Linked DNA regions of Homo sapiens: regions 2 and 3 are each linked to region 1. The links are contacts of gene promoters, found by promoter capture Hi-C in blood cells and fetal thymus (Javierre and others, 2016). All regions are on one chromosome and are shown on one strand. Each heading gives the region's core, a stretch centred on a gene start or on the middle of the fragment in contact. The rest is flanking DNA. Distances are from core to core; before and after follow the strand shown.

What was found. Contacts are between HindIII fragments. The CHiCAGO score rates a contact against its expected background, and 5 or more counts as called.
Region 2: a fragment that was not itself captured here is called in contact with the fragment with the promoter of ST14 in region 1 in 1 of 17 cell types (erythroblasts); the score reaches 7.1 in erythroblasts.
Region 3: a contact is called between a fragment that was not itself captured here and the fragment with the promoter of ST14 in region 1, in 3 of 17 cell types (naive B cells, neutrophils and erythroblasts). The highest score is 5.9, in naive B cells.

The regions. Positions count from the first base shown.
Region 1 is chr11:130,158,193-130,161,661 of GRCh38, reverse strand. It overlaps ST14 (ST14 transmembrane serine protease matriptase), which reads right to left and starts at 1,880. Exons shown (of 19, transcript NM_021978.4): 1 at 1,602-1,880. The coding sequence starts at 1,682. RefSeq lists an enhancer at 145-644 and silencers at 1,732-1,801, 1,882-2,001. The HindIII fragment of the contact is 2,113 bases long and covers 430-2,542 here.
Region 2 is chr11:129,865,387-129,868,855 of GRCh38, reverse strand. NFRKB (nuclear factor related to kappaB binding protein) reads left to right here. Exons shown (of 27, transcript NM_001143835.2): 25 at 2,873-2,979. Among named protein-coding and RNA genes, the nearest start is that of NFRKB, 28 kb to the left of the region's middle. The HindIII fragment of the contact is 4,836 bases long and covers 1-3,469 here.
Region 3 is chr11:129,885,354-129,888,822 of GRCh38, reverse strand. NFRKB (nuclear factor related to kappaB binding protein) reads left to right here. Exons shown (of 27, transcript NM_001143835.2): 4 at 28-229; 5 at 2,379-2,506; 6 at 3,214-3,388. Among named protein-coding and RNA genes, the nearest start is that of NFRKB, 8.5 kb to the left of the region's middle. The HindIII fragment of the contact is 2,731 bases long and covers 222-2,952 here.

The sequences.
Region 1 (3,469 bases), core at 631-3,130:
ATGAGCAGGGATGGGGGAAACTAAAGCCAGGGCTTGCAGGTGACAAGACAAGTCCGCTGAATGTGGGATCCTGGGGGTGAGTGGAAGGTGAGCCCCAGCCTGGCTGCTTGTCAGGTGGTGAGATGGCTCAGAGAGGAGGCTGGACCACACGACCAGGAAGACCCTGCTTTCCCCGTGTGGGCAGGAGAGTCCTAGAAAGGGAAGTCAGGGAGAACAAACTTGGGGTGGGGGCACCGGACTGCCCTGAAATAACAAATTCCAAACAGCAGGTTCTCTGCTGAAGAGGCAGGGAGTCTAGAACCCCAAGTAGGCAATTAGCAAGGACACAAACATAGCAATTACAGCAAGGAAGAGAAGGTGAATCTGCCTCACAGCAGGGCACAGGCACAGCCAGGGGAAGGGCCCAAGCCTTCAGGTCCACTGGAAGCTTTCCTCCTTGCTGAGGGTGAAAAGTGGAGAAAATAGCAGAGCCCAGCCCCAGGTCCTGTCTGTGGTGCAGGCAGCCTCCAAAGCCCCAGCGTCTGATTTTCTGCAAGCTCCCTAGGTCGGGATGCTGCTTGGACAAAAGGAATTGATCTGAGACAGCACCAAAATCAGGCCTGACTTAGGGAGCAACGGCGGAGACTATGGAGCCCAGGGGCACCCGGAAGGAGGGGAGAAAGTGAGGGTTGGCAGGGCAGGGAGGCCATCATTTGCAGAGGAGCAAAACTCTCTGCCACACAGCCCCTGCCTCTCAGCGCCGCCCTGACCTGGTATGCCCTGGCCTTCCAGGAAACCTGGGGGTCTGCCTTGGACAGAGAGGGTAGAGACCTGGCTGCTGGTCCCGCCCGGGCACTACCACCTAGGTGGGTCCGTCAATGAAGTGACTAGCGACCCATCCCCAACTCCATACAGGAACATGTAATCTTTTTGAGATCTTTCAATAGGTCTTTCATTGTTCTTTCTGCCAAAGAAGAGCTTCCTGTTTCGGTACTTCGCAAAAGGCTCAAGACATGTGTGTTCCCACATCCCTTCCCATACAGCCGCCTTCCCAAAGGGCTCCATCCCCTCTCGAGAAGCCCAGGCAAGCCCAACTCTGGAGTTCTTAGCTCCAGCCCGTATGGCAGCCAAAGCCCTGGCCTCCCAGTTGTCCTCTGCGAGGTCCCAAAGCGCCTTTTGACGGGGAAGGAGAGAGACGAAAGAAACTTTCTGCAGAGGCCAAGGATGGCTGAGACTCCAAACCCTCCTGAAATTTCACTTCCTCCCAAATAACCCCACTCCAAGCCCCTGGTTTCTTCCAGATGTTCACTAACAGCGCGAGAGTCATGGAGGGGCCGAGACGGAGCCCCTTTTTTCAACTCAGGGAAAGAAAGGACCGAGGGCGCAGGAAGGCCCAGGGGCTTCCCGCCTCCCCCTGGCGGGGCGCAGCCGGTCCGGTACCAAAGGTCCGGCCAGCCCCGCCCGCCCGCGGCCCGGCACCCGCTGAACAGGAAATTCCACCTGTGCGCCCAGAGCTCGGCCACCGACGGACACGCCAGGGGAGCCGGCCGAGCCCAGCGCCGCGCTGCAGGGTCGGGCGGGCAGGAGCTTCCCAGCGCCCCGGGTCCCCGGCCCGCGCTCACCTCGTGCCGGGAGTTGTACTTGAGTCCCGCGCCGAAGTCCTTCGGGCCCCCTCCGCCCTTGCGGGCCCGATCGCTCCCCATGGTCCCCGAGGCCGCTCGCGGGTCTCACAGGCGTCGTCCCTGCCGGCGGCCGGCTCCCATGGCCCGCAGGGCGCGGGGCGCGGGGCGCAGGCGGCGGGATTCCGGGCAGGCCCAGCGCGCCCGACCGGCGGCGGTGCCCTCGCCCTGGCGCGCTCTCTCTCCCTCTTCCTCTTTCTCCGGCTGCAGCTCCGCTCTCACACTCCGGCCCGGCCCACGCAGGTAGTTTCAGGGTGTGGCCTCGGCCCGCCCAGCCCGCCGCGCTCGCCTGCGCACCTGCCCGGCTCACCTGCCCGCCCCCGCCGGCCCTGGGGGAGGCTCCTCCCCTCGGCTCTGGGCCTGAAGGTGAGGGGGCCTCACTCGGGTGGTGGTCGCTAAGGCCCTCACCATCACCACGACGGCGTTCACCACCCCTCCGGCCCTCCAGGGGCCCTGCCCCGGGAGGGCAGCCCTTTATCCACCTCCTTGATGCCAACCATCTTTTCCCTCCTCCCTCATGCGCCTCCGGTCTCTCCCCTTCACCTTGCTCACTTTGCTACAGGACTAAATCGCATTTATGAACCCCCCAAAACCAAACAGAAACCAGAACCGCCCCTGGCCCAGGCTCCCCGTCGGCTACGCAGCCTCCTGTTCTCCAGGCGGGAGGCGCTTGCTGGCCTGCGCCCGGCTACCCTGGGGAGGCCCAGTGACATGAGCTGTGCCACCAGATGCCCTCTGAGCCATCCCAACGCCCCTCGCCCACTTGCAGCATCTGATGCTTCCTCAAATGCCCCCTTTCCCTGGATTCCGGTCCTCCTTTCTAGTCCTAAATGTCATGATTCCCAAAGTTCTCCCTTCAGTTTCATCCCTTTCTTCTCTAAGCTTTTTCTCTTGGCAGCACGTCTCATCTTACGACTTCAGACAGGAAGACCTCCCTCCCAGCACAGACACCACCAAGGAGTGCCAGTTCTGCCTTAGCGGTCGCCTGGGGACGTCTCCATTTATGTTCTACTGTATTCTGTAGCCAATGAACATTACCAAGCACACACTAGGCGCTAAGCACTGTCCTGGGTACAGGGAAACAGGAGTGAACAAAATAAAAATCCCTGCTTTGAGATCAACAAGCCCCATCTTCCTTCCCTGACTTGCCCATTTTCCACTGTTTTCTCTAATTCTAATGGCAGCATTCTCCCAGGCTCAAATCCTGGAATCATCTTTGATTCTCCACCCTGCTTACATCTCATATCCAATTAGTTCCAAATCTGATCAAGACTCTGCTGACAAGCATAGCCCTTCCATTCCTGCGCATTAGAAGACCGCTATTCGAGTCCTCAGAGCCCTTTGCCTGGTTAAGAAAGATCTCCTGCCTCTGGGCTGCCACCCTCTGATCTCTCCTACACAAAGCAGTCAGGTAAATCTGAAACCACAGCTCCTTTATGACTTTCCGTGTCTCCCGGATCAAATCCAACCTCCTTAGCCCAGCTTCACACTCTGCCCTGTCCTCCCTTAACACCGTGCCTCCAAGCATTCCTGTTTGGAGCCCCTCTCTCCAGCCAGGCGTTCTGATCTTGGCAGCTTTCATAAAGCTTTTCATCCCCTGGAAGCTCTTCTCCTTCATACTCCTTCCGCATATTGGGTCGAAGACACCGATGGGGTTTTTTAGTGTTGTTCATTGAATGTTTTTAGCTCTCTGCCTTCTGGGCACAGGCCAGGGTGTTACTCTCTCTTCTCTGAAGTTAGGTATGGCAGTATGGCTAGCGGTAACCAAGAAAATGTCCAATGAGAGGACACACCACTTGTACATAGCAGCA
Region 2 (3,469 bases), core at 553-3,052, 290 kb after region 1:
AGAGACAGGGTTTCTCCATGCTGGTCGCGATAATCCTGACCTCAGATGATCCTCCCGCCTCGGCCTGCCAAAGTGCTGGGATTACAGGCGTGAGTCACCGCCCACGGCCGCTTTATTTATTTTTTAGAAATGTCTTGATGGTCGTTCTAGGCCATACACAGATACTGACTGGGGTCTTTTGAATGGTGTAGTAACCGGTAGAAGGGGCTCTGCTAAAGGATGCGTTTCCACTGTTAGCCAGGCAGTGGCGAATGTGTCTGGGCTTATGTGTGAACGTTTCTGAAGCGGAGAGTGCTAGTGCGAGCCTTGGGGGTGCGCACATGGAGAGTTGAGATACTCCAGCGGTGCCGCCTGAAAGGCCACATCCACATGTGCCCCATCAGCACGCCTCCTGTTTCCCCTAGACCTTAAGCAGTGCTGATACCACGTCTTTTTAACCTCGCATACCTGTCTTACTGGTGAAAAGGGGGTTCTTTTTTGATTTCATTTCCCTGATATGAGTGAAGTTGAGTATCCATTCATTTGGAGATTGGCATGTGCTCCCTGGTGAGTAAATCTTTGCCACTTTCCTTTTGAGGTATTTGGCATTTTCATATTGTTTGAGGTGGCTTTTTATAACATCCAGAAGATACGGAATCTGTGGATGTGAATTCTTTATATACATAGAAAATATTTTTTTCCAGTCTGTCATCTTTTAACCTTATATATGGAGTCTTTTGCTCTACAGATCTTTATAATTGTATCTAATTAGATCTATCAGCATTTCCTTTAATGGTTTCTAGGTTTCGTGTCTGTGTCTTCCTTACCCCAGGATCATAAAATACCTTGAGTTTTAAAAAAAAAAAGTATAATTGTTAATGCATTTGAAATATATTTTTGTGAATAGGATGAAGTAGAAATCTCACTTCCTAGTTTTCAAATTTGCCAAAATAATCAACTATTGCTTCCCCCACTAGCTTGAAAGGCTGCATTTATCATAAACCAAATCCCCATATCCCCACACAGGTGTCTGTGGATGCATGTGTGTTTACTCTTCAGCCTCTAGGTAAGGAGCATTGTTCAGAAGAGGGGTGTGTATGGACAGTATAAAATACAGTTTCGCTTTACTGAGCAAGCTATATAGGGAAGCCTTCATAAATTGGGATAAAAGCCAGAGCAGTGAAGAAGGATATAAACATAAGTCAAATGAATACCCAAAACAGAAAATCTTAACATAGTGTGGTTAAAAAAGAAATAGTTGGTCAGGCGCAGTGTCTCACACCTGTAATCCCAGCACTTTGGGAGGCCGAGGTGGGCAGATCACCTGAGGTCAGGAGTTCGAGACCAGCCTGGCCAACATGGTGAAACCCCGTCCCTACCAGAAATAGAAAAATTAGCCGGGCGTGGTGGTGGGCACCAGTAATCCCAGCTACTCAGGGGGCTGAGGCAGGATAATCATTTGAACCCGGGTTGCAGTGAGCCAAGATCGTGCCATTGCACTCCAGCCTGGATGGCAGAGCAAGACTCTGTCTCAAAAAAAAAAAAAAAAAAAAAGAGTTACTTAGGTTTCTGCATCATAGAAGTTGAAATAAGGAAGCGGGAAACTGCACTCACTTGATCCACTTTTGTTTCTTTTGAATCCCTCTAACAGAAAGGTTATATCAAGTGTCATCTGTCCTGTTATAATCAACCTGGGTAGGTGCAACTGGAGAGCATTTGGTGGGGCAGGAAGTATTGATGGTGCTTACTTCCCCCTGTCTAGTCAGCTTTTTGGTAGTTCCTGAAGGGATCATTCTAGGCAGTGTACTGGTCTGAGATGTTTTAAGCAACAAAGGCATTTTGAGGAAGAACAAAACCATAAGTAAATGTATCTGGAGGTACCATCTCAAGGTATTCTGTTGCCTGTTGCCCTCTTTGCATGCTTTTTTAACAGGCTCCAGGCTGTGGGTGAACCCCATGGAGATAGGTGCGGGGACCTGCCGCGCAGTTGTGCAGCTGAGTGCCCATCTCCTTAGTGTTAGCCTGCCTCTGTGGAATGCTGATGCCCTCTCCCAGCATCCTGTCAGCCAGCCCTCTTGAATTTTTTAAAACTCAGATTTAATTTACATAAGATTTCACTGCATAGAAATTTTATTACCAGTCAAGCATTAAAATCAAGGCCATCTGAAAACAGGTAATGCAGTGACCTATCTTAACCATCCTGAAGTCCCAAAGACTCTAGGCCTTCTCAGTTTCTAAAAAAAATTCTTCTTAGGCTTTATTAGCTTGGGGGTTGGACTTTTCACTTGATTGAGTTTATTGTTAGTGTCCCCTAGCTAACCTCTCTTATCTCCGGGAGAAATGGAAAGCACCGGAGAGCATGGCCTCTCCCTAATCTAGCATGCCCTGCTGTTTGTTCCTCACCAGTGGCCCTGCACTCCAATGAGTAGTTGTGCGCTTTAGGTATTAACTCTTGAGCTCCTCTGTCCTTCCTCAAATTTATTTCACCAAATAGTGATTGTGTGCCCAGCACTGTGCCATGTACTGAGGGATACAGAGATAAGCCTCTGTCCTCCAAGGAACTCAGAATCTTGGACTGTGCTAAAGTGAGGACACACCTGCCTTTGTGATTTAGATACAGGTTTTATCCTGTTGAAAGCAGATAGATGGGTTGCTGCTGCTTCTGGTGGCATGAAAGAGGATGATAAAAGATCAGATTTCACCTGACTATGGTATATAAGTAGTTCGTTAGGGTTTTCTGGGCCCAAACCTCAGGAGCCTTGAGACCCTGGTGGGTACTGGGGACTGACAGCATCTGTAGTGCTTGCTTCTCAGTTCCTGATGCCCTGGAGGTGACACTTGCTGGTTTTCCTTACCTCCTGTCTTACAAAACCTGACTGCTTTTTTTTTCTAGGGGAAGTTGCCTACACGGATCACAGTTCCCCTCTCTGTGATCAGCCAGCCAATGAAGGGCAAGAGCGTGGTCACAGCCCCCATCATCAAAGGCAACCTTGGAGCCAAGTAAGTACTATGTCATGGTAAAGGAACCAATTCGGGGGTGGAGGTGGCAGGCAGGGCTTACCAGTCCTTGTCACCGAGTGGCAAAGTGGCTGGTCTTTCTGGGGCCCTTCTTTGACACCTCTGCTTTATTGTGCTCATCAACAGTATTTATTGAGCATCCAGTATTGTTTTAGGTGCAGTGATTAAAACAGATGAAAATCCCTGCTGTTCTCCAAGCATACATTGTAAAGTAGAGAAATAATAAAAAAGCAACATGCGTGGTGATACATACTGGAGAGAAAAGGGTGTGGGAAGTGCTAGGATGGGGCTCAGCTAGGTGTGAGGGAAGCCTCCCTTTGACATTTGAGCTCTGAACCTAAGCAGTTCAGGGAATGAGGGCCACCTGTGGCCTTAATTTAAACAGGGATAAAGGGCACGATGAAATGAGTCTGCAGTCTCAGGGCAGCTTGTGAGATGTGGCTATTAGGGGGAGCGTTTCTTGCAGAAGTGC
Region 3 (3,469 bases), core at 338-2,837, 270 kb after region 1:
TTTGTTTACTTTTCCTATTTCTCCTAGCCTGAGATCTTCTTTGATGTTGTCAGCCTCTCAACATGGCAGGAAGTGTTAAGTGATTCTCAACGTGAACACCTCCAGCAGTTTCTGCCCCAGTTTCCTGAAGACAGTGCTGAGCAGCAGAATGAACTCATCTTAGCCTTGTTCAGTGGGGAGAACTTCCGCTTTGGAAACCCTCTGCACATTGCCCAGAAGCTTTTCCGAGGTTTGTAGCTCAGTATTCTTTCTTTGAGGGGGGTGGTGGATGGGCACACGTTCACTTTATGTGGGTATTCCTTTCTTCCTTTTCTTCTTTTTATCTTCATGTACAGATACTGAGGCAGCAAAGAGCGGTTTTGTGTAACACTTTGCTGTCTAGGCTGTGTTCTAAAAAACAAAAATGTATTGACTTATATAGAAAATACATAATATGAATTCAGCTTGTAACCAGCATCAGCTTGTAACCAGCATCTACATAAAAAAATAAAACATTTCCAGCATACTAGAGGTGCCCTTCATGTCTGGTCTTTAAAAAATTTTAAAAAGAGCTTGCCATTTGCTTTATTGCACGTATCAAGGTTCGTGTGTGTGTGTGTTTAGGTACACACACACTTTTTGCTGCAGAAAATATGACACTTCACTGCCAAGCACTTCAGCATGTCCATGTCTCTTAACAGACACTTTCCCATATCATCACCGCCCTGTTACCACACTCAAGGAATTTTACATTGAGCAGATAATATCATAGGCTATTTCATGTTCAAATTTTCTTTTCTTTTCTTTGGGACAGAGTCTCGCTGTGTCGCCCAGGCTGGAGTGCAGTGGCGCAATCTCAGCTCACTGCAAACTCTGCCTCCCGCGTTCACGCCATTCTCCTGCCTCAGCCTCCCTAGTAGCTGGGACTACAGGCGCCCGCCACCACGCCTGGCTAATTTTTTGTGTTTTTAGTAGAGACAGGGTTTCACTGTGTTAACCAGGATGGTCTCGATCTCCTGACCTCGTGATCTGCCCGCCTCGGCCTCCCAAAGTGCTGGGATCACAGGCGTGAGCCACCGCACCCGGCCTTCATGTTCAAATTCTCTTGATTGTTCCTGCAATGTCCTTTAGAGTAGCTGTGTAAATCCAGGATCTGTTCAGGGTTCATGCATTGTGCTTGGGCCTTACGTCTCTTTAGCTTTTTGAATCTAGGTAGGGCGCTTTGCCCCTTTTGTTTTTGTCTTTCAGTACACGAAGAGCCAGGACACTTGAATTATAAAATGTCCTGCTTCTTGGGAATTTGTCATTTTGTTTTCTCATGGTTAGATTGGGTTAAAGGCTTTCGGCAGGAATATGATATAGGAAATGTGGTCTTTCCCATTGTGTCACCTCAGGAGGCACATGGTATCAGGTTTTCCATTTTGGTAAAGCCACATTTGCTCACTTGGTTAAGGGGTGTCTGCGGTACCTCTTGCTTGTAAGGATACTTTATTCCTTTATCATTAAGAAGCAGTGTGGGATGATACTTTGGGATCATGGATCATGTGATAGTCTCATTTTCCAAAAGCCTTTGTCTTACCCAGTAGTTTCTGCTTCCATGGGTGATTCTCAACTGCATCAGTTACTATATTGGGGGTTGCAAAATGCTTTGGGCCACTCTTTAAGTTACAGTTTGCTTTCTGGACCATGGAGAGGAGCCAAGGAAGCCTCTTCCTCTTCCCTTCCAGGGTGACTTTGTTCTGGCACAAGGCCCTGAATGGGCAGCACATCTGGAATTCTGTTAAACTTGACAACTTGACAGCTGCTAATGACCAGAGAGAGTAGCCTTTTCACCTGAAATCGCATTATATTAAGGGTGTAAAATGAACATTCCCTTCTTTGGTGGGTTACTAGTGTAAAAAGGAATTCCCCTCTATGGTTGGCAGAGATCTGTTTCACTACAGCTGAGGGTGCACTGTCTCCTCTGATAGAGCAGAAGTTGGGGACCCACTTGGCTTTAGAGGGGCTCTGTAAGGGACCTTCCATAAAGGTAGCACTGTCTCTTTTGCTGGCATGTTTCCCCCGAAACAGTATGGTCGTCTGGTAAGGATACAGATGAGGAATGTCAAGGCAGGACTTCCTGCATATTCCACTCTGACCCATGCCATGTGTCAGTTCTAGTGCTGCTGAAGACAGTTGCATTACTGTGGCTGTGATGATCATCAGCCTTAAATGAGCTGTCATTGCTTCTCAGCACGCTTTTACTTTTGGTTCTCCTTCTTGATTCTCTTAAATGTTCACTTTTCCCTTAAGTTTTGTGGTACAGAGTTTACCATGTTAAGCACTCATTCAATATATTTGTTGACTGATGATGTATATTTGTTGATTGATGTAAATATATATACCTTTATTTTTTTAAGACGGACACTTTAACCCCGAGGTGGTCAAGTACCGGCAGTTATGCTTCAAGTCACAGTACAAGCGCTACCTCAACTCCCAGCAGCAGTATTTCCATCGGCTGCTGAAGCAAATTCTTGCTTCCCGGAGTGTAAGTAGTGCTGGGAACTGGATATAAAATGTGGGCAGTCACAGGTATCATGACTTCAAGAAGCAATTCAGGTGCAAAACACAAAAATTGCCACGAAGAAAAAAATGCTACCAATTAATCTGTGACACAGTTAAGCTATGCCATCCTTTCTTATGATAAACTTCAAATGTGTCCTGATTTCAGAGATGTTAAAACATAAAATGTGCTTCTTAAAATTGATGAAATTATAGTAGCTTCAGTGTTTACGAAGATAAACAGATGGATTTTGGATCTATCATGGGTTATTAAGGGAAACGAGGATTCCTTGGAATGGATATGAAAGTGTGCATGGGCCTCTGAATGCTGTGATGGATGGTAGCATAACAGGCCCAATAGCCCCTGGGTCTGGACCAGCCTGGAAATTCTTAGAGGCAAAGCTGTTTGGATTTTAAGTCATCCTTTAAGCTTTGGTGTAGAAATACTTGAATGTCTAGTATAAAAAAGTATTCATTCCTAGTAGAGCACTTCAACAGTCAGATTTGGGATTTTTCATGTAATCAATACAGATTCTTCGGATATATTAATATATATGTGCATCTTTCTTTGTGATCTGGAGGGAGGGAGTTGGGCTTAACACTGAAGAGAAGAAAATGTAGACTTGTAGAGTGTTCATTGTTCCAGAACAGGTCTTGGATGATGACTTGTACCCCCACCTGATCTCTACCTAGGATCTGCTGGAGATGGCCCGGCGGAGTGGCCCCGCCCTTCCCTTCCGGCAGAAACGCCCTTCACCATCCCGCACACCTGAGGAGCGGGAGTGGCGGACCCAGCAGCGCTACTTGAAGGTCTTAAGGGAAGTGAAAGAGGAGTGTGGTGACACAGCCCTGTCATCTGATGAAGAGGGTGAGTGTCCTCGGGCACTTGGGGTAGCTGGGGTATTGGATGGATACCGGCCACTTGTCCGGTTGGAGCCAGTGGTAGCCA